Linked DNA regions of Homo sapiens: all the other regions are linked to region 1. Evidence: promoter capture Hi-C in human tissues and cell types (Jung and others, 2019). All regions are on one chromosome and are shown on one strand. Each heading gives the region's core, a stretch centred on a gene start or on the middle of the fragment in contact. The rest is flanking DNA. Distances are from core to core; before and after follow the strand shown.

Region 1 (7,713 bases), core at 1,458-3,957:
CACATGGAACAGCAGGTCCCGAGGGAGAGCATGGCCTCTTCCCGTGTCCTGTCAGCGTCCCCAGCACTGCAGGGCTGGGGCTGCCGACTTGGGCCACACTTTGCCCAGAACAGCTCACTGGAGTTGCCACAGCGGCTAGGGAAGGGCCCTCCCTCAACCCCATTCTCCATGTCTCTCTGGGAAGGGAGAGCCCTAGGCACTGCCCCAGCTACGATGTTCCCAGGCTGGCTCCATCCACCAGTCAGATGTCCTCCTGATGTCAGCCCCAGCCCCAAAGATAACGGGAAGTGAGCTCGAGACCACAACCCAGAATCCTGGGCTGGGTGGGGGCCGCTGTCAGGATGGGGAAGTGCCTTGGACAAGTGGCAAGGAAACAGGACTCTGCTTCCTCCCTTTGTCCCCATGGTTGCTGCCCAGATGGCAGGAAGGGATCCCTGGATGGAGTGTGTCCAGAGCCCCTGGGCCCCCAGCATGTCAGGACTCAGAGCCATAGGGCTGGAGATCCTGGGCCTGGCCACAGCAGCAATCTGAGGCAAAGATCTAGCAGGGCAGGGGCTGTCCCAGGGGTTCCTTCCCATTTCAGCTCTACTTGGAGGAGGGAGGTCTGGGGAGCACCCTGTGCCCACCTCCCCACTGCAATGACCTCAGGCCCTGGGCTTCCTGAGAGCAGCACGTGCTGTGCTTGGCTGCGTAACATCATCCAGCCACGGCTAGAGGTAGCGGCATCTGTCCAGGTCCCCCAGAACCTGTCCCCACTGGGTTGGCATACAGGGGCCAGTGCAGCCAGGTGGGCAAGGACAGTCTGGAGGGGCTCCCCTGGGTGGCAAGAGCATCCCATCAGGAACTGAAGGGCCCAGTTCTCACCTTTCTTCTGTGATGTCTGATTCATTATGAGCTTGTAACGGAGATCTGAAAGCAAGCACACGCTCTCCTCAGCACTTGTGAAACCACAGCCATTCTGAGAGAAGAAGCCTGGCCTGTCCTCTCCTGGCTGCTGAGCCCGAAAGTCCTGCCCCCCCACTGGCTGATTGGGCCCTGCCCCATGGATCCCGCTCTCCACCATGCCTTTGTCGTGGGTGTCAGGCCAGGAGTGGCCCCTGCCTGTTCCCTAGGCAGAGCCCACCTGGCATATCAGCCTCATCCATCTGAGATGACTGGAGGGCGTCCACACTGCCAGGCAGAACCTGGGCTTTAGGGGTACAGAGGTGAACTCTGGAATCCCTGGCTATGGCGGTGTCATGATCCCGTGGGCATCAGGGACTGGGGGGAGGCTCAAGAAGATATGAGGAACGGGGCGTCCTGAGGCTCAAGAAGACATGGGGAAGCGGGGTCCTGACAAAACAGACGCCTGGTGATGGGATACTCGGCACTCAGGTAAGGCAGCAGCAGGGAACGGGGCGGGAGAGGAGGCCGCGGGCACTGGTGCCCTTGCTGGAGCCCTCCTGAAGCAAGAGCGAGGAGCGGAGCCACATCCCACATCCTGGCGGGCCCTCCTCCTGCTCGGGGCAGGAGGGGTGGGGGAGGAGGGAGGGAGAAAGGGGGGCGTGGGGGTGAGGAGCAGCTAAGGGTGCAGTTGGGAAGGCCCCGCCGGAGGACAGCATGGGCACAGGCGAAGCGGGGACGGGGTGGGGGGCGGGGGAATGCCTGCTCCTGATCCGATGTGTTTAGCTGGAAGAAATTCACTGAGCTGCGCACTCGCACTTGGGCACGTTTCCCTGCATAAAGTTTTTGTTTGTTTGTTTTTGTTTTTTTTGAGACGGAGTCTCGCTCTGTCACCGAGGCTGGAGTGCAGTGGCAAGATCTCGGCTCACTGCAAGCTCCGCCTCCCGGGTTCACGCCATTCTCCTGCCTCAGCCTCCCGAGTAGCTGGGACTACAGACGCCCACCACCACACCCAGCTAACTTTTTGTATTTTTAGTAGAGACGGGGTTTCACCGTGTTAGCCAGGATGGTCTCGATCTCCTGACCTCGCGATCCGCCCGTCTCGGTCTCCCAAAGTGCTGGAATTACAGGCGTGAGCCGCCGCGCCCGGGCCCCTCTATAAAGTTTTTAACAGAGGTGTGTCTGACCCTGCTTGGAGAGGAGAGGACTGGCGGAGTCAGCATCTGAAATGCTGCTGCCCTAGGAGACAGGCAGACAGGTTCGGCACTGCCCGGGGGCCACGCGGGTCTCCCTCTGGGAGGAGGGGACAGCTCAGCGTGGCAGGGCGGGCTTACCGTCCTGTGTTCCCCCTGAGCCCAGGCGTGTGCTGGAGTTGATGGCTGTGTTTCTGTGCTGCGGGAGCGGCAGTGTTGAGTGTGCCTGGGGAGGCAGGGCCGGCCTAGGGCCCCGCGCCGGCTCACCCTTGTTTTCCCGCTTCAGATGCTCGATCTCCTCATGGAGCTTGGCCAGCATCTCCGAGTGCTGCTGCTGCAGGAACTGTAGGCTCTTCTCCAGGTCCAGGTTCCGTTTCTGCGGGTCGCTCTGCCTGAGCTGCGGGCTCTGCGGCCTCAAGGACTGGACGCCCACAGAGGGGCGCTGGCGCCGGCGCCGAGAGCCCGGGGTCGGCGAGCTGGGGGGCCGCGTCCCAGCCGCCACCCCCGCACCGCTCATATCGCCATCGCCAGGTACTCTCCCGCTGCCACTGCACCCCGGCTCAGTGGCCAGGCCGCCCTAGCCTGGCGCCCCGTCACCATGGAAACCGGGCGACGGAGGGCGCCAGGCGTTTGGCGGGGGCGGGGCCTGTCGCTGGCTCTTCCTGGGTGAGTAGTGATTTACAAGGCATCCAGGGCTGGGCGCCGGGGCTCACGCCTGTAATCCCCGAACTTTGGGAGGCCGAGGCGGACGGATCACTTGAGGTCAGGAGTTCCTGACCAGCCTGACCAACATGGCGAAACCCCGACTCTACTAAAAATACAAAATTTAGCCGGGCGTAGTGGCGGGAGCCAGTAATCCCAGCTACTCCGGAGGCTAAGGCAGGAGAATAGCTTGAACCGGGAGGCAGAGGTTGCAGTGAGCCGAGATCGCACCGCTGCACTCCAACCTGGGCGACAGAGACTCTATCTAAAATAATAATAATAATAATAATAATAATAATAATAATAATAAAAGGCATCCTTTCCAGCCTGGATGGAAAGTGAGCCCCTGTCTCTATAAAAATTAAAAGAAAAAAAACCCGGGCATGGTGGCTTGCGCCTGTAGTCCCAACTGCTCGGGAGGCTGAGGTGGGAGGATTGCTGGAACCCCGGAGGTCGAGGCTGCAGTGAGCTATGATGGCACCACTGAACTCCAGCCTAAGTGACAGAGTGAGATGCTGCCTAAAAATAAGAGGCCGGGCGCAGTGGTTCACACCTGTAATCCCAGCTACTCCGGAGGCTGAGGCAGGAGAATCACTTGAACCCAGGAGGTGGAGGTTGCAGTGAGCCAAGATCGCGCCATTGCACTCCAGCCTGGGCGACAGGGTGGGATTCTGTCTCAAAAAAAAAAAAAATAATAAATAAATAAATAAATTTAAAAATAATAAAAATAAAAAGTCTTTTTTTTTTTTACAAGGCCTGCCCTCAAAAAAAAAAAAAATCACAGCCAGGCCAATCATAATTTTGCCAGACACCAACAAACCTGGAGGAAGGGAACATAGCTAACCCCAGCCTGCTCTGGCTCTCCTTCCCCACATCTTACTGCCACATCAGCGGGGCTCCTGTATAATAACAGGGGATACAAGTGAAAGAACTGCTCATCTCAGAGCTTATTCGAGAAATCTCTAGGAAACCGTAAAGACAACAGGGAGACAAAAACTAAGACACTAGAGGAGGTTTAAGCCTCTGACACCTCCAGTTAACAAACAGCACACATGGCACAACCCCTAACCAGACCAACATAAAACTTCACACAGAAAGTCCATTTACTGGTTGAGCATGACCAGCCCTCAACAAAAACTTGCAAGGCATAATAAAAAACAACACAGTTCGAAGACACAGCAAGCATCAGAGCCACACTTAAATATGGCAGAGATGTTGGAATTATCAGACCAAGAAATGGAATACGACTATGATTAATATGCTAAGGGCTCTAATGGAAAAAGTGGACAACATGAGATTACAGACTGATAATGGGAACAGAGAGGTAGACGTTCTAAGAAATAATCTAAAGAAAATGTGAAGGCCAGGCAGGGTGGCTCATGTCTGTAATCCCAGCACTTTGGGAGGCTGAGTTGGGCAGATCATTTGAGGTCAGGAGCTCAAGACCAGCCTGGCCAACATGGTGATACCCCATCTCTACTAAAAAATACAAAAATTAGCTAGTGTGGTGGCATGCACCTGTAATTCCAGCTACTTGGGAAGCTAAGGTGGGAGGATTGCTTGAATCCAGGAGGTGGAGGTTGCAGTGAGCCGAGATCATGCCACTGCCCTCAAGCCTGGGCAACAGAGTAAGACTCCATCTCAAAAAAAAAAAAAAGAAGAAGAAAAGAAAAGAAAATGTGAGAAGTTGGCCAGGCACAGTGGCTTACACCGCTAATCCCAACACTTTGGGAGGCCGAGGTGGGTGAATCACTTGAGGTCAGGAGTTCAAGACCAGCCTGGGCAACATGGTGAAAACCCATCTCTACTAAAAATACAAAAATTATTGGGAGGCCGAGGCGGGCGGATCATGAGGTCAGGAGATCGAGACCATCCTGGCTAACACGGTAAAACCCCATCTCTACTAAAATACAAAAAATTAGCCAGGCATGGTGGTGGGCGCCTGTGGTCCCAGCTACTCGGGAAGCTGAGGTAGAAGAATGGCGTGAACCCGGGAGGCGGAGCTTGCAGTGAGCCAAGATCATGCCACTGCACTCCAGCCTGGGCGACAGAACAAGACTCCATCTCAAAAAAAAAAAAAGAAAAAAGAAAGGCAGGCATGGTGGTGCATGTCTGTAATCCCAGCTACTCAGGAGGCCGAGGCCAAAGAATTGCTTGAACCCAGGAGGTGAAGTTTCCAGCAAGCTGAGATCCTGCCACTGCACTCCATCCCGAGCAACAGAGTGAGACTCCATCTCAAAAAACTAAAAGAAAATGTAAGAAGTCAAAAACACAACAGAAATGAAAACTCAGGTGCATGGCTGATGCCTGTAATCCCAGCACTTTGAGAGGCCAAAGCAGGAGCATCTCTTGAGCCCAAGAGTTAGAGACCAGCCTGGGCAATATAGCCAGACCCTGACTCCACAAAAAACTAAAAAGTTTGCCTGCATGGTGGTGCACACCTGCAGTCCCAGCTACTGAGAAGGCTGAGATGCAGCGAGCCGTGATTGCACCACTGCACTCCAGCTTGGGCAACACAGAGAGACCCTGTTTCAAAAAAAGAAGGAAAAAGATATAGGAAATTTGGATCTAAAAAAAGGGAAGTGCATTAGAGAAGGAATAAAGTAAAATAAAATATAATCTTTATTATTATTTTTAATAGATGACAGGTTGTTCAAAAAAATTATGGCAACATGTATTTAGTAATTATGGTTTATGGATAGCTGGAATGAATGGTAGCAATATTATTGCTGGGAGGGAGGATATCCTGAGTGGAGAGAAATTCATCCAGGCAGGAGTGCAGTGGCGCGATTATAGCTCACTTGCAGCCTGGAACTCCTGGGCTCAAGCCATCCTCCTGCCTCAGCTTCCCTAGTAACTGGGATTACAGGCACACACCACGCCTGGCTAATTTTTTTTTTTTTTTTTGTCTTGCTATGTTGCCCAGATTGGTCTCAAACCCCTGGGCTGAGGCAATCTTCCTCCCTCAGCCTCCAGAAGTGTTGAAATTACAGGTATGAGCCACTGTGCCTGGTATATGGTTGCTTTTGAATGTCCTAGTCCTAAACATCTGGTTCCCAAGAAGGAGAAAAGAAAAATGAAGGCAGGAGGAGGTGCTGATCCATAAAAACCTCCTGGAAGGTGTGTACCCAGGGAGGCAGTGAGGGTTGAGGAGGGACGTTGCAAACATAGCAGTGGAGATTGCAGCAGTGGCTGCCTGCCTCTTTGTCTGCATTTTCACAATCAACAGCAGCCATCATCAATCAGAGCACAGATCCCCAGTATTTGGAGGATGGGGCTCTTATTGCCCGCTCTGGTTCCTGCAAGCTATAGGGAAGCTACTCCAGAAATGCATGCATGGCTGCTTGCACCACCAATTTAAATGCCACTTTCTTCTGAAAACACCCTTACAGACCTGCCAGGAAATAATGTGTAACCAGATATGAGTGCATCCGGTGGCCCAGACAAGCTGACATATAGAATTAACCATCACAAGTCCACCCCTTGTCAACCTGGCACCCATACACATCTCCTTAAACCATACGCACTCTCCAAATAAACACAATAACCCAGTGTTATTGTGTTAGCAGTGGAAGGTGTCCGAGTTAATAGTGTTAGCAGTGGAAGGTGTCCAAGTCACTGGCAGTGAATCCGGATGGGTCTTCAGCAACCACAATTCTTGGCTCCTCAGAAGAAGGAATTCGACTGAGGGGCATAAGGCAGAAAAAGAGACCGAAGCAAGTTTCAGAGCAGGAGTGGAAGTGTATTTTAAAAGGCTTTAGAACAGGAAAGAAAGGAAAGTACGCTTGGAAGAGACCTAAGTGGGCACATGAAAGTCAAGTGTGGTGTTTAACCTTGATCCTAGGACTTTCTAGACTGGCCCCTTTCCCATGATCCTTCCCTTAGGGTGGGCTGCCCACATGTACAGTACCCTCCTTACCCTTGGGAGTTCCTAAACACATGCAGTGTGTTTAGGAAACTGTATGCATGCCCATCTGAGGTTTTTGGGTGGGGTGCCCCCCGAAGGTCATACTCCACCACTTTGTCTCTTAATGCACATGCCTGGGAAGTTGATTCTCCCTGGAATCTGCATTCAATTAACACTTTAGTGAAATAGGTGTGGCCCATCAGGAAATGGCCTGTCCCTGGCGCCAGCTGCCAATTTATCACTTTTTTTATTTATTTATTTTTTGAGAAGGAGTCTCTTGTCACCCAGGCTGGAGTACAGTGGTACGATCTCGGCTTACTGCAACCTCTACATCCCAGGTTCAAGCGATCTTCTTGCCTCAGCCTCCCAAGTAACTGAGATTAGAGGCATGCGCCACCACACTAGCTAATTTTTGTATTTTCAGTAGAGATGGGATTTCAGCATGTTGGCCAGGCTGGTCTCAAACTCCTGACGTCAAGTGATCTTCCTGCCTCAGCCTCCTAAAGTGCTGGGATTACAGGCATGAGCCACTGCGCCTGGCCAAAAGTAGGAATTCTTGACTGGGAAATAATTTGATATATTTTCGCACCTTGTGACTTGAGAAAATTATGCTAGGAATTCTGGTTTTGGGAGTCAAGGGAAGCTAGCTTAATTTTTACAGTGAAGGCTACATAAGAGTCCGCTCTCCAGTGTGGTGGCTCACACCTGTAACCCTAGCACTTCAGGATGCGGAGGCGGTCGGATCACTTGAGCCTAGGAGTTCAAGACCAGCCTGGCAACACAGTGAGACCCCGTCTCTACAAAGAAATTTAAAAATTAGCAGGGTGCGGTGGCGCATGCCTGTAGTCCTGGCTACTTGGGATGCTGAGGCGGAAGGATTGCTTAAGCCCAGGAGTTAAGAGGCTGCAGTGAGCTGTCATGGTGCAGTGCACTCCAGCCTGGGCAATATAGCAAGACCTTGTCTCAAAACAGAGAGTTCTCTCTCATTTATATTGGAAATGTCAGGGTTATTGGTGAGAGCTGGCCTTT
Region 2 (7,713 bases), core at 1-2,500, 1.4 Mb after region 1:
ATTTTTTCATGTGAATAGCACTTCCAAGAACACATCCATGCCTGTGTCATTTTGAAAGAAGGATTTATGATTTATTTTCCTTTGTGTAGATACCCAGTTATGCGATTGCTCATTTGGATGGTATTTCTAAGTTCTTTGAGGAACTTCCAAGCTACTTCTTATAGTGGGAGACTAGTTTTTATTCCTACCAAGAGTGTAGCAGTGTTTGCTTTCCTCTGCTGCCTTGCCACCATGTAAATGCTTGGACTTAGGACAAATGGCCATTCTGACCGACTTGAGATGGTATCTCAGTGTGCGTGTGAGTTGCATTTCTCTGATGATGAGTGATGTTGATGTTTTTTTCTTGTCTATTGGTCACTTGTACGTCTTTTTTTTTTTACAAGTATGTCTCCATGTCTTTTTGCCCATTGTTTGATTATTTGTTTTTCTGCCTCTTGATTTTTTTAAGGTCATGTTAGAGTCTGGCTATTAGACCTTGGTCAGAAGCGTAGTTTGGGAACATTTTCTCCCATCCTGTAGGCTATGTTTTTACTGTGCTGGTGATTTATTTTGCTATCTGGCAGTGTTTTAGTTTCTTAGGCCCAACTTGTCCATTTTGGTTTTTCTTGCTGTTGTTTTTAGGGACCAAGTCATCTAAATTCTTTACCAAAGCCTGTGTTGAGAAAGGTATTTCCTAGTTTTTCTTGTAGGACTTGTATAGTTTGCGGTCTTCTGCTGAAATCTTTCATTCACCTTGAGTTAGTTTTTGCATCTTGTGAGAGGTGAGGCTCCAGTGTTGTTCATCTGCAAGTGGCTAGACACTATCCCAGTGCCTTTCATCGCACAGTGAGCCCTTTCCACGTCTGAATTTTGGTGTTTCAAAGGTCAGATGGTTGCAGGTATGTGGGTTGCTTCTGGGTTTCCTATTCTGTCTAGGTGGAGGTGGGTCTGTAGCTTTTCTGTGAAATTTGAAATTGGAGATCGTGGTCCATCTGACATCGTCTGGATCTCCCAGCATGGCTTTGGAGTTTCAGAGCATTTCGTGGTCCCATGGGAATTTTAGCATTCATTGTTTCTTCACATTGCTTTCAAAAAACAAAATCGACCCATCCTAAAGGTGTACAAGTAGAGGGTAGAGTGGAATATTTGGATCCATGCATGCATCAGATAGTGATGAAATCAGGGTATATAGTGTCATTTTTTGCCTTGTAGAGTGTTCCTGTCTTTGAGTTGAGGAGAGCCAGAACTCTTCTTTCTGGCTGCCTTGAAAACTATCCTCTGGTAAAGTTTTCTCTAGTCACCCTGCTGAGGAATAGAACAGCAGGTTTCATTCCTCTTACGCAGCATGTCACTTTGTACCTGTTTCCTATCCCCACCCGTGCCCAGCCTTCTGTTCCAACCCTGGCAAGCACTGTGGTGCTTTGTAGGTCTATGTGAGATTAAAGGGTCTTAGATTCCCCATGAGTGAGGTAATGTGAGGTTTGTCTTTCTCTGCTTAGTATTTCATTTACCATAATGTGTGTTTCATTACCTAGTGTGTTTCATTTACCAGGTTCCACCATGTTGCCGCAGATGACATGATTTCAGTACCTGTGTCTGGCTGAAAAGTGTTTGTTTGTGAATGGATATTGTGGTTTCTGGATCTCATCCTCTGTGGGTGGACAGGTAGGTTGATTCCTTATCCTGGCTATTGCGACTGGTTCCACAGGCAGCATGGGAAGGCAGATGTGTCTTCTGTGTACTGATGACGTATGCTACCAGTGCACACCCAGTGGTAGCGCGGCTCAGTGAAATGGTCGTTGTATTTTTAGTTTTTAGAGGAACCTCCAGGTGGCCTCTGTAGTGTGCGCACTAATTTACCTTGTCAACAGTTGTGGACAAGAGAGCTCTCCTCTCTGGAAATTCACAGCAACATTTGTGGTTTCCCTTCTTTTAAGATATATGAAGTTCTTTGTAATACTCTTTCCTTTGAGAGGGACACGATATCTGAGTCTTGTTCTGATTTTCATTTTTCTTATGATTAGTGATATTAACTACTAGGTGTTAAGTACATTTGTTTTCAGTTTTAGGTGTTCTTTGCAGAAAAGACTCTTTGGTTTCTTTGCCCAATTTTGGTTTGCTAATTACCTTCTCTTTTCTGCTAGTTAGTAGTGTTAGTTACTTACACCTTTTCTAAAAAAAATCTCCTTAGCTGTGTTTTCCCCTATACCTTTCTTATCATCCGTTGGATGTTTGTTTCTTTTCATTCATTGTTTTCATTCTTTCTTTCCCCCAAGCCATATAGTCTGATGAGTCTGATGCAGATTCAGGGGTGTGCAGTGTTGTGGTTTTCCACTACATTGGTTACTGATGAAATAAAGGACATTCACTAGCATACCAATCTATTGTGAGTTTTGCTTGTTTGTTGTTTGTATTTTCTTTCCCCCATATTGTTTTCATTTTCCTTTTTGCAAATTGTAAGCATAGATCCAGGTTGGCCCAGGTATCCACACACCATATACTTTCTTCTCAGAGAGTGATAGTTTCAAGTTTTGGGTATAGGTCTTTCATTCATGTTGAATAGATGATTGTGAATTTCACACAATAAGGACCCTATGTTGTTATTTTGCCTAGGGATATCCAGTTCTCAGAACGCTGTATTGGACAGACTCTCCCTTCTTGTGGTGACGTTTGTGGTTCTTTCTAAACATGTGCTTAGGCTATACCAATTTGAACTTACTCCTAGGCACCTTCATTGTGTCCCCTGGTCTGTGTTTCTCTGCTAAGGCCTATCACAAATCATCTGGGTAACTAAAGCTTTGGGAAGTAATTTAAAGTGGAAGCATGTGATGGCTCCACCGAGTTTGTGTGTGTAGGAATCTGGGTAACTAAAGCTTTGGGAAGTAGGTTAAAGTGGAAGAGTGTGATGGCTCCACCGACTGTGTGTGTAGGAACTGCTTTGGGAGTGCGCGGCACTTCATTGTCCCACAGGACTTTCAGAAATATGTTGTGATCCTATTTGAAAACAAAAATTTCACATGGTCTATGCTTTTACTTTAAGGGCGCAAGGGACCATTTGACATATGGATCAGTGCTGTTGTGATCAAATTACAGGACCTCGTGTCTCTGTTTCAGGCTATAGTGAGGATTTCTTGGTGGAGAGAGTATCCCGATCACCCCTTCCCGCTATATTGAATATCATGCTAGGAGACTGTTAAGCCTAGTCACCCTGCTAAGCTGTAGAACACCAGAATTCTTGCCATTCATCTGAGCGTCACTTTGTAGCTGTTTCCAAGCCTCCCCTCAGCCTCTGGTACCCACTATTGACGTTGCTCCTTTGTGAGATGCATTTCATTAGATTCCATGCGCGTGAGATCGTGCTGTGTTTGTGTTTGTCTTCCTCTGCCTGGCTCATTTCCTTTGACTTAATGTCCTTCAGCTTTCTCCACCTTGCTGGAAGTGACCTGCTGTCCAGAAGTTTGATGGCTGAGGAGTATACCATCGTGCATGCATCTTTCATTTCCTGCATTTCTTCCTCCCTGGATGGACAGGTAGGTTACTTCCATACCCTGGTTATTGTCCGGAGTACTTCATCAAACACGGGAAGGCAAATATCTCCTTAAGTTACAAGGTTCCTTGGCTTTGCTGGTATACCCAATGTTGGGATGGCTACGGGAACTGGTAGTTGTATTGTTGTTTCAGAAACCTCCTGCTGTCTCTCCCAGTGGGTATACAAATTTGCATTCCTACCAATAGTGTGTGAGAGTTTCTCTGTCTGCAAATCTACACTGCCCTTATCTTCAAAAGGTTTTATTGCTGTTCCTGGTCATACTCGTTCTCTGGGGAGTTTGGCAGTATCTGAGTGTGGTTGGGATTTGCATTTAGGGGATGATTACTGATGTGGAGGAACTTCTATTACCCGCGAGTCTGTTGCAGGTTTTTTCAGAAATGCCTATGCCAGTCTTTTGGGCAATTTTAGCATGTGTATTGGTTTTTGTGTTTTTGTCCACTTGGGACCATTAGTTTCTTGAATATATCAGATAAGAAGCCCTTCCAGATCCACAGTTTTCCATAATTTTCTCCCAGTCTGTGGGATGTCTTCTGTTGGGTTCACTGTTTTCTCTCCAGTGTTGAAGCTATGTGAAGCTCTGAAGTTGTCCTTAGTCTCACATGGTCACATTAGCTTTTGTTAGCGGTGATTTCTGTGTCCCTTTGAGAAGAAAAGCAAGATGGCGAAGCCATTGTATGGTCTATGGGTATTTGATTCCTATGTGTTTTCTGTTTGTGGCTTAGGTGCACAGGTTCAAGTTTTCCCACACTAGACATGCACCCTATGTGTTTTCCTTGGAGGTTTTGGTTTCACAATTGCCCTTTAGTGTTCAGTGGATTTTGTGTCGCTTTTTGTGTCTTGTGTAAGGGAAGGGTTTATTTCAGTCCTTTGCATGTGACCCCCCAGTTTCTTCAACCATTGTGCTTTTGGTGTGCTTTTGGGGGAAAAGCAAGAATCCTATGGATTCAGTGTTTATAATTGTGGGCTGATTATTTGGCTCCTTCGTTGTGTCCATTTGGTTATCTTTCTGTGTTCATGCCACTAATGGATGGATTGGGCCACTGTAGGCTTTTTCTTTCGTTTTGTGTGTTTTTTTGTATTTTCTTCCTTTTTTTCTATTTCTATTTCCAAAACTGGGTTTTCTAAAATGATAGCTACTTTTATTGTGATCGAGGGGTGGACGCCTGCAGGTTCATTTCACTACATGGCTATATAGCAGACTTTGTATGCTTGAGGTCCTAGCGTACCCATCACCCAGGCGGTGAACACAGCACCAGTTGGATCATTCTTCCTCCAAGGCTTCCTGTCTCCCTCCTTTTTCTGTCTGGTAGTACCCAGCATCTGTTGATTTCATCTTTACGTTCGTGTGTATTCGGTGTTGAGTTTCTGCCTGTAAGTGAAAACCTGCGGTGTTTGGTCTTCTGCTCTTGCCTGAGTTCGCTTAGCAGAGTGGCCTGCAGTTCTGTCTGTGTTGATGCTGTGGGCATGATTTTGTTTCTGTGTTTGATTTTCCTTGGTGGCTTCTTAGTATTCTGTGGTGTATAGGTATCACATTTAAAAACATCTCATTTTCTGTTGTTGGGCATCTAGGTCAGGTCCACGTCTTTATTCCTGTGAGTAGCACTCCCGTGAACATGCAAATGTCTGTGTCTTTTTGATAGACACATGTATTTTTCCCTTGGGTGGATACACAGGGTTGGATTGCTGGGTCGAAGGGTATCTCTGCTTCCTTTCCCTCTTTGTTGTTGTTGTTGAGAAATCTTGAAACTGCTCTCCACAGTTTGAGACCTAGTTTGCATTACCCCAAGAGTGTAGCTGTGTTTGCTTTTATCTACTGCTACACAAATATGTTTTGTGTTTGGACAAATGGCCATTCTGACTGGTGTGTGATGGCACTGGTACCTCATCTCTGATGATTAGGGATGTTGAGCATTTTCTCCTGTCTGTTGGTCTTTTTTAAGTCTTGTTTTGACTAGTGTGTTTGTGTCATTTGCCCATTTTTTACTTGTGTTATTTTTCTGCTTCTTGATTTAGGTAAGGTCCTCTAGATTCTGGCTTTAGAACTTGGTCAGATGCTTGGTTTGGGAACATTTTCTCCCATCATGTAGGCTGTGTGTTTACTGTGTTGGCAGTTGCTTTGCTGTCCAGCAGGTCTGTAGTTTCTTCGGCCAGACTTGTACTTTTTGTTTTTTCTTGCATTTCTTTTGGGTACTAAATTGTCTAAGTGGTTTGCAAAAGCCTATGTTGAGAAAGGTGTTTGATAGGTTGTCTGTTAGGACTTTTATATTTGAAGTCTTCTATTTCAATCTTTGGTTGATCTTGAGTTAATTTTCCATATGATGAGAAGCAGGGCTGCAGTGTTAATTCTCCTGCACATGGCTAGTCATGTATCTGAGCGCCATTCGTTGCATAGTGAGCCTTTTCTTTATTTCTTATTTCTGTGGTTTTGTCAAAGGTCAGATGGTTGTAGTTCTGCCAGGCTACTTCTGCATTTTCTAACTTGTCTAGGTGAAAGCTAGGTCATTTTTTTCTGTTATGATCTATTTTGATTTCTTGGGTTCAAGAACTGATAAATAAATTTTAGAAACTGAAGAACCCACTTACTTTCTCAAGGTTAGAAACCATCACCATCACCGTATTCTGTGATGTTATGGGCTTTATTGAGTTATATCTTTGCCCTTTTCCTTCAAGTCTCTCCTCTGGATTTATTTTGTGAAATTAGATTCTGAATCCCATTTTGTTGCATAAACTGTGCTTGAGCAAAAAAAAGTTTTTCTTTTTTTTTCTAAAAACATCCTTAGTATACATGGGGTGAAGAACAACAAACCTGTCTCCTCTTTCCACTAGTCACACCATTACACTCCTTTCCAGCCTCTTTGCTGCTACATGTGGCCATTCAAATGAGCCCTGGCTAAGTACATGTGGATAGAAGTTAATGTTCGCTTCTTGCAAGCCTGGCCTGTGATTCTGTGTTGTGATTTAGAACATAAAGAAGAAGTGAGACTTGCTGAATGAGACTCTTGAACGCTTCCTCTGACAAGCTCCAAGGCACACTGGTTGTCTTGCAGTGCTTTGGACAGCTACTCGTTTGTTGGACAATAATTTCCCAACATGGGGACAACCCAGAGCATTTTCCACTTCCATATTCTGCTTCAGTTGCTCATGGTTTTGATCGAAGCTAGACAGTGACTGAACCAGGAGGCTCAGACCCCAGGCCAGCGTGGAGTCCTGTGGTTGAAGACAGGCTGGACCATCAGAGGAAGAAAACAAGTAGCCCTTTTTTCTGGATTTTCACCTTCTCTGTTTTCAGGAAACCTGAAGCCAATTATGTTATGCAGGCATGACTGAAAAGAGATTATTTTGAGTTGTTTTGGTGGCACCAAGAAATGTGCCAATGTGACAGCCAAAAAAGCAGAAAGACCAAGGCATTGAGAGTGGGAGAGCCACTGATGATGCTGGGTCTGGTAGGCTTTTCGAGATCTCTCCCAGCCCCAAAACAGCCAAGCAACTCTGTCCTGGGTTGTGAGTGGGCTCAGCCGCCCCTGTGCACACCCATGCTTGGATTCTGGCACACATGGCACCCACAGGAGGCAGTTCCCCCTTCAGGAGACTGGTTGGCAGGACCCTGTCTCCACACGCAAAGACAGCAGGCAGAACCCACACGTCCTCTAGTTTTCCCAGTGTCACTCGCCCATGGGGGTTCACGATGAGACCCCACGGGTCCAACCTGCAGGCAGAGTTGCCACCCCAGCCTGAGGCAAAGTGGACCTTTTTCTGCCAGAGGGGTCTGCTTTCCCATTGGCCAAAATGGCCTCAAATGACAGGGACAGAACAAGGCACAAGTGTACCCATTAGAGTGTCTGAGCCCGCCTGGTGTCTGCTTCCACACATCTCCTGGGAGGTCCCAGCAGGCACCCAGGCCTGGGCCACAGCTCACCCCACATTCAGAGGTGGGTAGCACAGCTGCCCTATGCAGGCCTCAGGGAGGAAAGGGAGAAAGAGATGACAAAAGCAAGACACAAGAAATGCAGCAAAAGCACACAAACACACACACTGACACTCATCTGGGGCAGGCCATCCTCTCACCCATGACCAGCAGTGCAGGCAGCTGAGAGTTGGGCAGGAGGTGGTGCCACCATCCCCTGAGTTAGGGCCTGGATCCAAGGAAGAACATAGAGTCCCTAGAGTCAAGCGCCACTGACCTC
Region 3 (7,713 bases), core at 949-3,448, 1.4 Mb after region 1:
TGGTATCTGATGTTGGAGTGTGATTCTGACTCACATGTTTGGAGTATTTAGTGATGTGGAGAAACTTTTTTTTTCACCTGTGAATCAGTCTCATGGCCTTTGCAGAAGTGGTTGTGCAGGTCCTTTGCATATTTTTAGCTTGTGTATTTTTTTTTAAATCTTTTCTCCACTTAGTAGCTTTAGTGCTTGAATATGTTAGACAGCAACCCCTTCCAAAATTGCAATTTTCCACAGTTTTAACCCAATCATCCTTTCCGCCAAGGTAAGATGCTTTCTCTTTGGGTTCATTGTTTTCTCCCCAATGCAGAAGCTCTGAAGTGTTGGTCTCACAGGTGTATATTTGCTTTTGTCAGCAGGGATTTCTGTGTCCAATCAGAGAGGGGAAAAAAGAGATCACAAAGTCATTGTATTGTGTATAGGTATTTTGCCTGTGAGTCCATGTGGTATTTGGTTTTCTGTTACTGTGTTAGTTTGCTTAGCATAGTGACCTGCAGATCCATCCTTATTGCTGCCAAAGCCATTAAGTTTTTTTAAGCTATGTAGGTTGTTGTGGTATCTATGTACAGCACTTTTAAAACATGTAATCTCGATGTTATTTTATATTTCCATGTGAATAACACTTCCAAGAACATACCCATGCCTGTGTCATTTTGAAAGGAGGATTTATGATTTGTTTTCCTTTGTGTAGATACCCAGTTATGCGATTGCTCATTTGGATGGTAGTTCTAAGTTCTTTGAGGAACCTCCAAACCACTTCTCATAGTGTGAGAACTAGTTTTTATTCCCAAGAGTGTAGCGGGGTTTGCTTTCCTCCACTGCCTTGCCACCATGTAAATATTTGGACTTAGGACAAATGGCCATTCTGACCGATGTGAGATGATATCTCTGTTCGTGAGAGTTGCATTTCTCTGATGATGAGTGATGTTGAGGTGTTTGTTCATGTTCTCTACCCATTGTTTGAATGGTTTGTTTTTCTGCCTCTTAATTTTTTTAAGGTCATGTTAGAGTCTGGCTATTAGACCTTGGTGAGAAGCATAGTTTGGGAACATTTTCTCCCATCCTGTAGCCTGTGTGTTTACTGTGCCGGTGATGTATTTTGCTATCTGGCAGTGTTATAGTTTCTTAGGCCCAGCTTGTCCTTTTGGTTTTTCTTGCTGTTGCTTTTTGTCTAAATGCTTTCCAAAGTCCGTATTGAGAAAGATATGTCCTAGGTTTCCTTGTAGGACTTTTAATAGTTTGAGGTCTTCTGCTGAAATGTTTCATTGACCTTGGGTTAGTTTTTGCATCTGATGAGAGTTAAGGCTCCAGTGTTGTTTATCTGCATGTGTCTAGCCACCTAGCCCAGTGCCCTTCACTGCATAGCGAGCCTTTTGTCCATCTGACCTTTGGTGTTTCAGCATGGCTTTGGAGTTTCAGGGCATTTTGTGGTCCCACGGGAATTTTAGCATTGTTTCTCTATGTTGCTTTCAAGAAACAAAATTAGCCCTGTCCTAAAGATGGACAACTAGAGGGTCGAGAGGGACATTTGGGTCCATGCATGCATCGTATAGGGATGAAATCATGGTATTTAGCGTCATTTTTTGCCTTGTAGAGTTTTCATGTCTTTGAGTAAGGAGAGCGAGAACCCTCCTTTCTGGCTGTCTTGAAAACTACCCTTTGGTAAAGTTTTCCATAATCATCCTGCTGAGGAATAGAAAAGCAGGTTTCATTCCTCTTACGCAACGTGTCACTTTGTACCTGTTTCCTATGCCCACCCATGCCCAGCCTTCTGTTCCAACCCTGGCAAGCACAATGGTGCTTTGTAGGTCTGTGTGAGATAAAGTTTCCTAGATTCCTCATGAGTGAGGTGATGCGAGGTTTGTCTTTCCCTGCCTAGTGTGTTTCATTTACCATAATGTCCTCCAGGTTCCACAGTGTTGCCACGGATGACCTGATTTCAGTACCCGTGTCTGGCTGTAGAGTATCTGGTCGTGACTGGATACTGCAGTTTCTGGATCTCATCCTCTGGGGGTGGACAGGTAGGTTGATTCCTTATCTTGGCTATTGCGACTGGTTCCGCAGTCAGCGTGGGAAGGCAGATGTGTCTTCCGTGTACTGATTCATGTGATTCCAGTAGCAGCACAGCTCAGTGAAATGGTTGTCATATTTTCAGTTTTCTGAGGAACCTCCTGCCTCTGTAGTGTGCGTACCAATTTACCTGTTAACAGTTGTGGATAAGAGAGCTCTCCTCTTTGGAAATTCACAGCAGCATTTTGTGGTTTCCCTTCTTTTAAGATACATGAAGGTCTTTGTTATACTCATTCCACCGAGAGAGACACAGTATCTGAGTCTTGTTCTGATTTTCATTTTTGTCATGATTAGTGATGTTAACCAGGTGTTAACAAGCATACTTGTTTTCAGTTTTATGTGTTCTTTGCAGAAAAGCCTCTTTGGTTTCTTTATCCAGTTTTGGTTTGGTAATTAATTTCTGTTTTCTGGTGTTTTTTGCTAGTTAGTAATGTTAGTTACTTACACCTTTTCCAAAAAATGCCTCATCAGCTGTGTTTTTCTCCAAACGCTTCTTATGATCCTTTGTATGTTTCTTTCTTTTCATTCATGTTTTTCATTCTTTCTTGCCCACAAGCCATGTAGTCTGATGCAGTTTCAGGTGTGTGCAGTGTTCTGGTTTTCCGTTATGTTGGTGACTGATGAAGTTAAAGAAATTCACTAGCATATGCTTCTAGGATGGTAGAGAGCAGTTTACAGCCTGAGACCCATCGCTAGGTAAGAAACTGGTTTTGGATTCTGTCTTGCAAATTCCTTTTAAAGAATAAAGTTAACATTTAACAACCAGCTGGTGTTAATTTGTGCTTACACTTAGAGTGCTCAGAAATCATAATTTGTGTGACCATTGTTAGTTTAGCAGCATTTTGTCCTCGCTGAAATATGGTAATAAGATTAAAAGAGTTTTGTTTAAAGGAGCACAATTGTGTAAAAGCTTAATTAAAAGGGTAACATCCAGATGTGTGTGCATGTGTGTGTGTTTGTATTTGGAAGACCTTCATGTTTTTGTTTTTGTTCTGTTTGTTTTACTCTTCTAAGACCTTGTCTTTTTGTTGTTGTTGAGCAAATGTGTTTATTTTATTTTTTGTCTTTTTCTTCTCAGTTGACTGAATTCTGTTTTCACTTGATTTTTTTTTTTGACTAAAATAGTTATTGCAACAGAGGCTACTACTCTTGGGTTTTTAAGGAAGAGTGTAGTTTAATTTGGCTCGAAGAAAAATATTAGTGTCTTCCTGTAGCACCATCGGACTCTTACTTTCTGTGCTTTATGAAGTAAATTTTGCTATTGGATTTTCACCTGAGTTGTTTCCTTTAATGTTTCAATTTAAGGCTGTTTAGTTTGACAGCTGCCTAGGGTTGTGAAACAAGTTATCAAGAATCTGAAAGTCTGAGAGAGAAAAAAAGGGCGGAGGTCTTTAAATCTATAAAATGTACTGTGACAGCCCAATGCATTCACCTTGCCCGCTGCCTAGACAGAACCGATTTATCAAGACAGAGGAACTGCAGTGGAGAAGGAGTAACTCACGCAGAGCCGGCTGTGTGGCAGACCCAAGTTTATTACTCAAATCGGTCTCCCCGAGCATTCGGGGATCAGAGTTTTTAAAGATATTTGGTGGGTAGGGGCTTGGGAATTGGGGATTAGTCAGGTTGGAGATGGAATCATAGGGGGTTGAAGTTAGCTTTTCTTGCTGTCTTCTATTCATGGGTATGATGGCACAACTGGTTGGGCCAGATTACCGGCCTGGGCAGGGTCTGCAACACATAACAAGCCCTGATCTTAGGTTTTACAGTAGTGATGTGATGTTACCTGCAGGAGTTAGGGGAGGTTCAGACTTTCGGAGCCAGAGACTGCATGACCCCTAAACTGTACATTCTAATCTTGTAGCTAATATGTTAGTCCTGCAAAGGCAGACTGCTCCCCAGGCAAGAAGGGGTTCTTTTCAGGAAAGAGCTATTACCAATTTGCTTTCAGAGTCGAACCGTGGACCAAATTCCTTCCCAAAGTTAGTTGAACTTACACCCAGGAATGAACAAGGACAGCTTAAGGGTTAGAAGCAAGATAGAGTCGGTTAGGTCTGATTTCTTTCACTGTCATAATTTCATTAGTTATAATTTTGTAAAGGCGGTTTCAGTACTTCCATCGATATGCCTAACAGATTTTTATATGTATTTGTGTGTTGTATACAGGATGTTCCACTACCAAAAATATATGAAAGAGCTCTAATTAATTGGCTTAAAGAAAAATAAAAGTACTTAAGTTAGATACTAAAAAAGACTAGTCAAATGGTTTTTCAACTTTATGTAACTTAAGTAAAATCTTTAATAAGCTAGCTTTAAAATTATTGTAAAACAATATTAGAAATGTCTTAAGAATTGGCAGCATACATTTTTGTTTACATTTAGTAATCAACCGATTTCATACATATTCCTGCCAGATACTATAAGGTGTCAAAATTTGGCATGGGGGGGTTTCAAAACTATAAACTCAGCCCAAAATGGAATGATCTTTACTTGAGTAATTTTTAATAAGTAAGACATTGATATGGGTTTAATAAAAATAGCTGCATGTTGAATTTAGTAAGATTACTAGCACTTCTAATCCTGTGGCTTTTGGCAGTCTAGTCCACAGACAGTAAGGAAAGGACTGTTACTGCCTTTGTTTCAAAGCTAAAGTATAAACCAGGTTCCTCCCAGTGTCAGTTCGGCCTATGTGCAGGAATGAACAAAGACGGTTTGGAGGTTATGAGCAAGATGGAGCCAGTTAGGCCAAATCTTTTTTCACTGTCTCAGTTATAATTTTGCAGTGGTGGTTTCATAACTTTAAATCATGACTATCACAGATTTCATAAATAATCTAGGTAAACAATTAGGTAAATGTAGTGGGATAAGTACTTGTAGACAAACGTCATAATTTAGAATATAAAGTAAAATTAAATAATAGATATTTCATTATTTGGGTATTTTCCAATAAACATATTGTAGGAAAACATTCTTGCCAAAAAAAGTGTGTCTTCTTTTCTAAAAAAAAAAAAAAAAAGTTGAACAAGTTTTGTGTAATTCAAAGCTTATTTAAAGTTATGTATAAAACAAGGTAAAAGGAACCAGGAAATAAAAAAAAGCTGTAAAGAAAGTTGTAAAGAGGTTGTTTTTGAGGTAAAAAGAGCTTAAAGAGAAATACTATTACCTAAGAAAGAATCCCGTCTAGTAAGTTTAGTCCTAAAATAAAATACTTGGTTGTTTAAAAAGAGGGGGTGTTCAGAATAAATCAGAAAGTCTGACCATGTCGTAAACAGTCAGTGTAAAGTCACAACAAGGATTTATATGTTTAAAAAACCCAAAAACTTCTATATGATAAAGTTGTCATATTAAGTTTTGGTTTGCTTAGGAAAAAAAACCTGAGATTTTTTAAAAATTGAGGTCATTACATCCATGTGTCTTCCTGTATATGCTTTTAAAATCCTTGCAACATTGAGTTACAGGGCTTTTAACTCCTAGGTCTAAAAAGGACACTAAGTCCTGCTAATCTTAAACACCCACAGCAATTAAAGGCTCATCTTCAGGCCCCATAGAAGATGCCAATTCAAATAAACTGCTGCATTCCTGAGACACAGGGCAAGAAATGATGAAAGCTATTCAACTCCTCAAGACCCAGGGACTATTGTGAAAGAGGTGGGAGCATAAGATTGTAAGGGCCGATTTTGAAAAATAAAGTAGGTTCAGTTTCTCTATGCATTACTTATTAATGTCAAAGGCACACTGATGCAAAACCAGTATATGGACGCTTGTGTCAGATTAACAAGGTTTTCTTGAAGCATTAACCAACTGCTTAGTACAGGTTATAAAAGGCTGATGGAATTATATTTTGTAATCAAGATTACATTTTATAGATTGTTTACAAAATTTTTTTTTTAAGTTTTTTTTATTATACTTTAAGTTTTAGGGTACATGTGCACATTGTGCAGGTTAGTTACATATGTATACATGTGCCATGCTGGTGTGCTGCACCCACTAACTCGTCATCTAGCATTAGGTATATCTCCCAATGCTATCCCTCCCCCCTCCCCCCACCCCACCACAGTCCCCAGAGTGTGATATTCCCCTTCCTGTGTCCATGTGATCTCATTGTACAATTCCCACCTATGAGTGAGAATATGCGGTGTTTGGTTTTTTGTTCTTGTGATAGTTTACTGAGAATGATGATTTCCAATTTCATCCATGTCCCTACAAAGGACATGAACTCATCATTTTTTATGGCTGCATGGTATTCCATGGTGTATATGTGCCACATTTTCTTAATCCAGTCTATCATTGTTGGACATTTGGGTTGGTTCCAAGTCTTTGCTATTGTGAATAATGCCGCAAACAAATGTAATTGGCTTCATGCTGTTTTTAAAAAATTCTTAAATTATCACTTTGGTTAAATAAATGACTTTACAATGACCTGTAATCCTATTTTTAACATCAAGTGTTTTAAACATTTTATATTTGACAAACTTCCCAAAATCAAATTATATATTATGTCTTTTTCTATCCTAAGTAATCCTTTAAGACATTAGGTTCTCTAAAGTCTAAAAATGACATAATTTGGCTTACCTGCTATAAAATGTTTGGAAACATTGTCAAATATGAAATGGTGTTTGGCTTTCTTTCAGATCCATTTGTATATGTTTTTGGTATGTTTCCAAAATGATGGGAAACTCCTGTAATTCTGATATAACTTAGTGTACATTATTTGTAATAATCATAATTGTTATGTTAAAATCATTGTGTGCCACGGAGGTAACAAATTCACTTGTCAATTGTGTCTTTTAACTATGGCTGCCTTAAATTTTTTTTCATCCACAGGTAATTGTCTTGTTTTGTCTCGTTTTAAACCCTCTTTATAAGGTGGGTTTATAATCAGCTATAGGACTCTAACAGGTGCACTTAAGTTCAGGTTTTCTGATAATTTTGGAAATTGTTACACTGGAATAAAGCAAAAAATTTCAAAATTCTCATGGAGAGCTGAAATGTTCATGACTATCAAACAGAACAGGAGTTAACTGAGATAACTGAACCAATAGAAAACTGAAGTTATCTTTTTGACTTTTTGCTTAAAACATTGCTAATACTTTTAGTTTTTCAGAGTTAAGGAAACTTTTATTTACAGCTTTTAACAATAAATTATTGTATATTCCTGTGAACAAAATTTGGAGCATATTTGTTTTTCTCTACCTAATTTCTCCAGAATTTGGAAACTATGAGTATTCTTAATTTATGGCAGTATAGTTACTTGCATAAGTGCAAGAAGAATCTGTTTTATTTTGGAATAGGACACAGTTGGAGAATTTGGTTATTTTATCAAGGGTTTGACTGAAATGGTGTGCTTTCCTTTAAGGAATCAAAACTGACTTATCAAGCCAATAAAGCCCTTGGAAAAACTGGCCTCATATTTTGTGTACACAGTCCCTGTACAGGATTTTGACCTGTGGTAAATAAAGAATGTCATTTTCTGAGAGGTGCAGAAGCCCCAGGTTTATCTTGGAACCTCAAGAGGAGAGGAAATTCACTGAAATCATAGGTATTTGATGGCACAAATCCATGGCTGGGCTTGGCTTTGAAAAAGTCTTATCTAAGATTCCTGCTATGGAATAAAGTTCCATCAAAGCCAATTTAAAAGCCTATGTAAAA
Region 4 (7,713 bases), core at 3,072-5,571, 1.4 Mb after region 1:
AAGAGGCGTGGTGGGCAGGGTCTCAGGTCAGGCCCAGCCCCTACCCAGCCACCCTAACCTTGAAGGCCCCTCCCAGCAGTGGTCCCAGGAGCTCTTGGGGGAGCCCCAATTCTCCCAGGGATGCCCAGGATCCCACTCACCACTGCCATGTCAGTCCATTTTTTTTTTTTTTTGAGATGGAGTCTCACTCTGTCGCCCAGGCTGGAGTGCAGTGGTGCCATCTGGGCTCACTGCAAGCTCCACCTCCCAGGTTCACACCATTCTCCTACCTCAGCCTCTCGAGTAGCTGGGACTACAGGCGCCCGCCACCATGCCTGGCTAATTTTTTTTTTGTATTTTTAGTAGAGACGAGGTTTCACCATGTTAGCCAGGATGGTCTCGATCTCCTGACCTCGTGATCTGCCCGCCTTGGCCTCCCATAGTGCTAGGATTACAGGCATGAGCCACCGCACCCGGCCAATATTTTTAAATAAAAAATTACAAAGCTGTTTTTCTTAAAATGTTACAGTAAAATGTTATCTGTGTGTAAAATGTATCTATTTTATGTGTACCTGTGTGTGTATGTGTGTGTGTGTGTGAGAGAGAGAATTCTGAATTAGAAAGCATATGTACCAAAACATTAGGAGTAGTTATGTTAGAGTAATGAGATCATGAATGATTTTCACTTTCTTCTTTATACCTTATCAATCATCATCTCAAAATTTACAATCAGAATTCATTATAAGCTATTGTTTGTTTATTTATTTATTTATATTCGCAGTGGCACGATCTCAACTCACTGTAACCTCAGCCTCCCAGGGTCAAGCAATCCTCCCACCTGAGCCTCTGGAGTAGCTGGGAAAAATCAAAGTTAAGTATTCTTCAGTTTAAAATAACTTGTTATAATTATGTTGTTTAGCCTCATGGTAACCAGAAAACAAAAATCAATAATAGATACCCTAAAAATGAAAAGCAAGCAATTAAAACACACTATCAGAAAAAATTACCTCACTACAAATAAAGACAGGAAGGATGGGAAGGAGGAAAGAAAAGAAAGAAAGAGAGAGATCAGAGAGAAGAGAAAGAGGAAGGAAGGGAGAAAGAACAAAAGAAAAAAGAGAGAATAGCAAAACAACCAGAAAACAAGTAAAAAATGGCAGTAGTATGTTTTTAACCATTAATAATAACCTTGAATATAAATGAATTAAATTCTCCAATTAAGACAGAATGGCTGAGTGGATTAAAAGACAAGACCCAACTATATACTGCCTACAAGAAACTCAGTTCACCTATAAACATACATAAACTGAAAGTGAAGACATGATAAACGATATCCCATACCAGTGGAAACAAAAAAAGCAGGAGTAGCTCTACTTAGATTATATAGACTTTCAGTCAAAAAAAGAAAAATATGAAGATAATTATATAATGAGAAAAAGTAAACAGCAGCATAACAATTATAAGTGCATATGCAACCAGCACTCAAGCAACTAAATACAGTAGCAAATATTAACAGACCTTAAAGGATAGACTGCAATACAGTAACAGAATGCCTCAATGCTCCGCTATAATCAACACCCCACTGTCTTCAACGGACAGATCATCCAGACAACAAAACATCATCAGTTAAACTGTACTCTATACCGAATAGACCTAACATTTGCACAGCTTTCCACTCCGCAACTGCACAATGCACATTCCACTGAATAGCATGAGGATTATTCTCCACAACAGACTATGTGTTAGGCCAAAAAACAAGTCACAACACATTTTTAAAAACTGAAATCATGGCCGGGCGCGGTGGCTCATGCCTGTAATCCCAGGACTTTGGGAGGCCGAAGGGGGCGGATCACATCCTGGCTAACACAGTGAAAACCCGTCTCTACTAAAAATACAAAAATTAGCTGGGCGTGGCGGCGTGCACCTGTAGTCCTAGCTGCTGGGGAGGCTGAGGCGGTAGAATGCCGTGAACCCAGGAGGTGGAGCTTGCAGTGAGCCAAGATCGTGCCACTGCATTCCAGCCTAGGTGACAGAGCGAGACTCCGTCTCAAAAACAAAACAAAACAAAACAAAACCTGAAATCATATCAAGTATCTTTTCTGACCACAGTGGAATAGTACTAGAAATCAATAACAGGAGGAAAAACTGTACAAATACATGGAAATTAAAATACATGCTCATGAACAATAAATAAATAAATGAAAAAAATAAAAAGAAAATTAAAAATTTATTGAAAAAAGAATAGAAACACAACATAACAAATCCTGTGGGATGCAGCAAAAGCAGTTGTAAGAGGAAAAAGGCATAGGTATAAATGCCTACATCAGAGAAGTAGAAAGATCTCAAATAGCTAACCTGACAGTATACCTGAAGTAATGAGAAAAACGAGAAAAATAAAATGCTAAAATTAGTACAAAAAATATCATAAAGATTAGAGAAGAAATTTTAAAAATAGAAACAAAAAATACAAAAAGTCAATGGAACAAAGAGCTGGATTTTTTAGAAAAAAATCAAAACTGACAAGCTTTAACTAGACTAAGGAAAAGAAAAAGAAAACAAAATCATAGATGAAAAACGAGACATTACAATTGATAACAGAAATATGAAGGATTATACGAGATTACTAAAAACACCTATATAAAAACAAGTTGGAAAATCTAGGAGAAGTGATAAATTTCTGGACACATAACAAATTCCCAAGATAGAATGATAAACAAAAAACCGGAACAGATCAATAATGAGTAATGTAATCAAAGCAGTAATAAAGTCTTCTGTCAAACAAAAACACAAGAATCACGGTTTTACTGCTGAATTCTACCAAACGTTTTTAAAAGCGCTAATACCAATTTTACTCAAAATATTCCCCAAAAAATGAAGACAAAGTAAGTCTTCGAAACTTGTTCTATGAGGAGAGCATGACCCTGGTACAAAAACCAGACCAGGAAACAACACAAAAAGAAAACCACAGGCATTTTAAATATCCCTGATGAACACAGATGCAAAAAAATCCTCAGCAAAATACTTGAAAATTGCACTTGACAACACAATAAAAAGATGATCTGCCATGATCAAGTGGGATTCATCCCAGGAATATGAGGATGATTCAATAAAACACAAATAAATAAATGTGCGACATCACATTCAGCGAATCAAGAACAAAAACCATATAATCATTTCAGTAGATGCTGAAAAAATAAAAAAACATTCCTTCATGACAAAAACTGAACAACATGAGTACAGAAGGAACATATCTCAGTGCAATAAAGGCCATATATGACAAACCCACAGCTAACATCATAATCAATGGGGAAAGGTTAAAACTCTTCCTCTAAGGCCTGGAACGAGTGTGGCTACTTTTACACCACTTTTATTCATCATAGTACTGGAAGTCCTAGGTAGCGCAATTAGACAAGAGAATGCAATAAAAGGCATCCAAATTGGAAAAAAGAAAGTCAAGCTCTCTCTGTTTGCAGGTGACATGATCATATATATATATACACATAGAGAAACAGAGAACCCTAAAGATTCCACAAAATCACCTACTAGAAATAATTTAGTCAAGTTGCAAGATACAATATCAACATATAAAAATGAGTAGCACACTCATGCACCAATAATGAAATACCTAAGAAATGAAGACAGCTATTTCATTACCAAAATAATTATATCTAGGGATAAACTTAACCAAAAAGACAAAAGATCCCACAATGAAAACTATAAAACACAGATGAAAGCTATTAAAGCAGACACAAGTAAATGGAAAGATATCCCATGTCCATGCACTAGAAGAATATTGTTAAAATATCTATATCACCCAATGTGATCTAGAGTCAATGCAATCCATGTTAAATTACAAAAGACATTCTTCATAGAAATAGAAAAAAATATCCTAAAATTCACATGGAAAAGCAAAATATCTCAGATAGACAAAAGAATCTGGAATAAAAAGAAAAGCTGGAGGCATCACACCTGACTTCAAAACATACTACAAATCTGTAGTAAGCATGGTAATACCAAAACAGCATAATACTATCAAAAAAAGGGGCGGGGGAGAAACAGAGAAACGAAGGAATGACAGACATAGACAAGTGAAACAGAATAGAGAAATCAGAAATAAATTCACGCATTTATGGTGTACTCATTTTTAACAAAGGCACCAAGAACACACATTCGGGAAGGAAGGACAATCTCTTCAATAAACTGCTAGGATAACTCAACACCCACATGTACAGGAATACATCTAGGCCGTTATCTTACCATATACAAAAATCTACTCAAAATAAAGATTTAAATGTAGGACCTGAAACTATAAAACTACTAGAGAAGAAAACATAGGATAAATCCTTCATGAAACTGGTTAGGACAAGGAATTTTCAAATAGACATCAAAAGCACAAGCAACAAAAGCAAAGATGTAATTACATTAAACTTGTCAAAAGCACAATCAACAAAAGCAAAGATGTAATTACATAAAACTTAAAAACTTCTGCAAAGCACAGGAAGAAATCAGTAGAACGAAGAAACAACCCAGAGAATAGAAGAAAGTATTTGCAAACTATCCATCAGCCAAGGGGTTAATACACAAAATATATAAATAACTACTCAAAAGCAAAAATACAAATAATCTGATTTAAAAAAATCTACCCCAAATCTTTGTCTCCCACCATTATTTTCCCACCTTCTTTTCCCGACCGCCTTTGGCCTCCTCCCCCTCGCCACCCGTTTTCTTCCTCCATCTACCCCAAAACTTTTTCCCCACCATCATTTTGCAAAGCCTTCTCTGCTCTCTCACTCACCACCCTTTTCCCCATCCATTTACCCAAACACTTTCCCCACTGGTTTTTCCCACCGTCTTTTCCCCTTCTCCCTGGCCACGTTCTTTTTCCCCATCCCACTCTCATCACCCTCTTTTGCTCCTTCATCTAAGCAACAACGTTTTCTCCCGTCTTTTCCCAAAGCCTTCTCCTCACTCCTGCCGCTCAACACTGTCTTTTCGCCCTTCATCTACCCAAAAACTGTTTTCCTCATCGTCTTTTCCCCCCGTTCCTCCTTGCCACTTCTCCATCTACCCGAAAACATTTCCCCATAGTCTTTTCGCAAAGCCTTCTCCCCACTCCTGCTCACCTCCCTCTTTTCTCTCTCCATCTATCCCCCAGAATATTCCCCACCGTCTTTTCAGTCTTCCCCCCTTCCCATTCATCCTCTTCTTTGCCCTATCCTGCTTGCCACTCTCTTTTTTACCTTCCATCTACCCCAAACTACTTTCCCATTTTTTCCCAACTCTCTTTCCCTGCTCCCTCTCATCACCCTCTTTCCTCCTCCTCGTTACCCTCTTTCCCCCCTCCATCTACCCAAACACTTTTTACCCACTGTCTTTTTTTTCTCCACCGTCTTTCTTTCCTGCCCACTATCTTTTTGCAAAACCTTGTCTTTCTCCCGCTGGCTACCCTTTTCCCTTCCCCCACCTGTTACCCTCTTTTCCCCCTCTATCTTCCCAAAACCTTTTCTCCCCACTGTCTTTTCACAAAACCTTCTCTCCCTACTGCTCAACGCTGTTTCTCCCCCCGACCATCCTCTCTTTCCTCCTCCCCTTGACACCCTCTTTTCCTCCTCCATCTACCCATAAACTTTTTACCCACCATCTTTCTGCAACACCTTCCCTCCTTCGCGCTCCCCACCCTGTTTTTCCCCCACCATCTACCCAAAAACTTTTTTTCCCACCATCTTTTCCCCACCGTCTTTTTGCAACGCGTTCTCCTGCTCGCTAACTTCTTTTCCCTTTGGGACTAACCACCCTCTTTACCCCCTCCATCTATCCCAAAACTATTTTCCTCTTCTTACCGCTCCCGCCGCACTGCCATCTCGGTCGCGGTCACCACCAGTTGCAGCGAGGCGAACCACAGTGGAGCGGCTCCAGCCTCCAATTACCCATTCCCGGTCCTCTAAGCCGGTCACTGAGCAGCTCCATAAGAAAGTACGGGAACCTGGAAGGGCCTGCCTTCCCTTCGGGAGCATTCATATACTGAGGTTATATATATATATGAGGGTTCCTGGACTGCATGTTCTGATTGGATGAGAAAAACCCTCCAGGGTTACTCTGATTGGACTTTATTATCATGTTCTGATTGGATGAGAGCAAGTCTTGAGACAACCAATCACAGCATGAAAATAAAGTCCAATCAGAGTAGGCCTAGAGGTTTTTTCTCTCATCCAATCAGAACATGTAGTCCAGGAACTGCATGTGCGCGACCTCAGTACGTAAAGCATGCTGAGGCGGTGTCAGGTCATTTTAGGCTCTTCAGTTTCGCGTTTGGTATCCGGCATGGCTGCCACCTGTTTCTGGCTGGAGCCTCGGACACTGGCTCACTGCAGTTGGTGGTGTCGACAGAGCGGTAGGAGGGCGGCGGGCAGCAGGAGCTTCTCCTGCTGGGCAGGAAGACGAGTAGAAGGGAGCGGCACCGAGGCATGCTGGAGGCTGGAGCCTGAGCCACCCCGGCTCGCCTCGCTGCGGTTGGTGGTGACCTCGGACACTGCAGCTCGGCCAGAGTGGTAGAAATGTCCTGGTGTAGGTGAGTCAGCTGGGGATGCACTGCCCGCATGTGGGGGCAGGGGTTGGGTGTCCTATTGGGGCTCACTCCCCGAGGCTGCACTGCCTGTGTCAGGGGGCTGGTTGGGGGCACTCTCCGAGGTTGCATTGCTGGCGGTGGGGGTGCGGTGTTGGCTGGCTATCTGGGGCTACACTGCCCACGGTGGCGGGGGTGGTGGGCGGGGGAGGCAGGTTGTGTGCACTAACGTGTACTGCTGGTGGCGGGGGATGGGTTAGGGGCGCTATTTTCTGCTGCACTGCCCAGGGCAAGGAGTGGGTTGGGTGGTTATTCGGAGCTACGATGCTGGTAGTGGGGGGTGGTTTAGGAGTGTTGTCAGGTGTTGCACTGCCCTTGCTCAGGGTGCACTATCAGGAGCTCCCCTACCCGTGGCGGGGTGGGGGCGGCGATTTTGGGGCACTGTCTTGTGCAGCAACACCTGTGGCTGGGTCAGGTTGTGGGCACTATCGGGTGCTACACTGCCTGTGGAGGGGGTGGTTGGGGGGGTATTGGGGTTACACTGCCTGCAGCTGGCACAGGGTGTGTTGGGTGTGCTGTCCGAGGGCTACACTGCCGGCGGCAGGGGTCAGGTTAGGGTTGCTATGGGGGCTATACTGCCAGTGGTGTTGGTCGGCTGCAGAGGTGGTGGGGACAGCAACAGCCATGGTCTCCTTGCTCCTTCGGGTGACTCTTCTCCTTTCCGTACTCCAGACTCTAGAGGGTGATCTCTTCCTGCTCGTGCAATCTTGAGCATGGCAGGACCCCCACACCCACTGCGGTTCTCCGGCCTGCACCTCCCGCCCACACCCCATGCTCTGTGTTGGGGAGACCACCTGGGACTACCGGGTGGGGATTAGTGGGCATCGCGGGGGACTGTGGGAACAGGGCACTGTGGGTGGAGGTGTCAGGAACGGGAACCAGCAGTTGAGTGGGGAGGGCTGGCTGGGTCTGAGTTTCTCCTACTCCTGCTCCCCAAGGAGTGCAGCCCTGGTGGGCCCAGCAATTTCTGGCCAGTTGCACCTGGATGGGGGTGGTTTCAGCATAGGCACTCACACCCGCCCCAGTTCCTGGCCACCTTTTGCCAGAAAGAGAGGCTGGACTTCGGTGGGTGGGTGTGAGTGCCTTAGCTGAAGCTGGTCCCTGCCACCCAG

Evidence for each region. Contacts are between HindIII fragments. The study calls those that stand out against the background at their distance.
Region 2: a contact is called between a fragment that was not itself captured here and the fragment with the promoter of CCDC74B in region 1, in 1 of the 25 tissues and cell types used here (lymphoblastoid cells).
Region 3: a fragment that was not itself captured here is called in contact with the fragment with the promoter of CCDC74B in region 1 in 1 of the 25 tissues and cell types used here (lymphoblastoid cells).
Region 4: a fragment that was not itself captured here is called in contact with the fragment with the promoter of CCDC74B in region 1 in 1 of the 25 tissues and cell types used here (dorsolateral prefrontal cortex).

The regions. Positions count from the first base shown.
Region 1 is chr2:130,142,405-130,150,117 of GRCh38, forward strand. CCDC74B (coiled-coil domain containing 74B) reads right to left here and starts at 2,708. Exons shown (of 8, transcript NM_001258307.2): 1 at 2,343-2,708; 2 at 865-909. The coding sequence starts at 2,592. RefSeq lists an enhancer at 744-823. The HindIII fragment of the contact is 11,101 bases long and covers 1-7,713 here.
Region 2 is chr2:131,578,621-131,586,333 of GRCh38, forward strand. No RefSeq gene overlaps it. Among named protein-coding and RNA genes, the nearest start is that of LINC01087, 55 kb to the right of the region's middle. The HindIII fragment of the contact is 3,126 bases long and covers 1-2,813 here.
Region 3 is chr2:131,555,446-131,563,158 of GRCh38, forward strand. No RefSeq gene overlaps it. Among named protein-coding and RNA genes, the nearest start is that of CCDC74A, 31 kb to the left of the region's middle. The HindIII fragment of the contact is 3,687 bases long and covers 356-4,042 here.
Region 4 is chr2:131,537,277-131,544,989 of GRCh38, forward strand. No RefSeq gene overlaps it. Among named protein-coding and RNA genes, the nearest start is that of CCDC74A, 13 kb to the left of the region's middle. RefSeq lists enhancers at 5,926-6,427, 6,428-6,927. The HindIII fragment of the contact is 9,764 bases long and covers 1-7,713 here.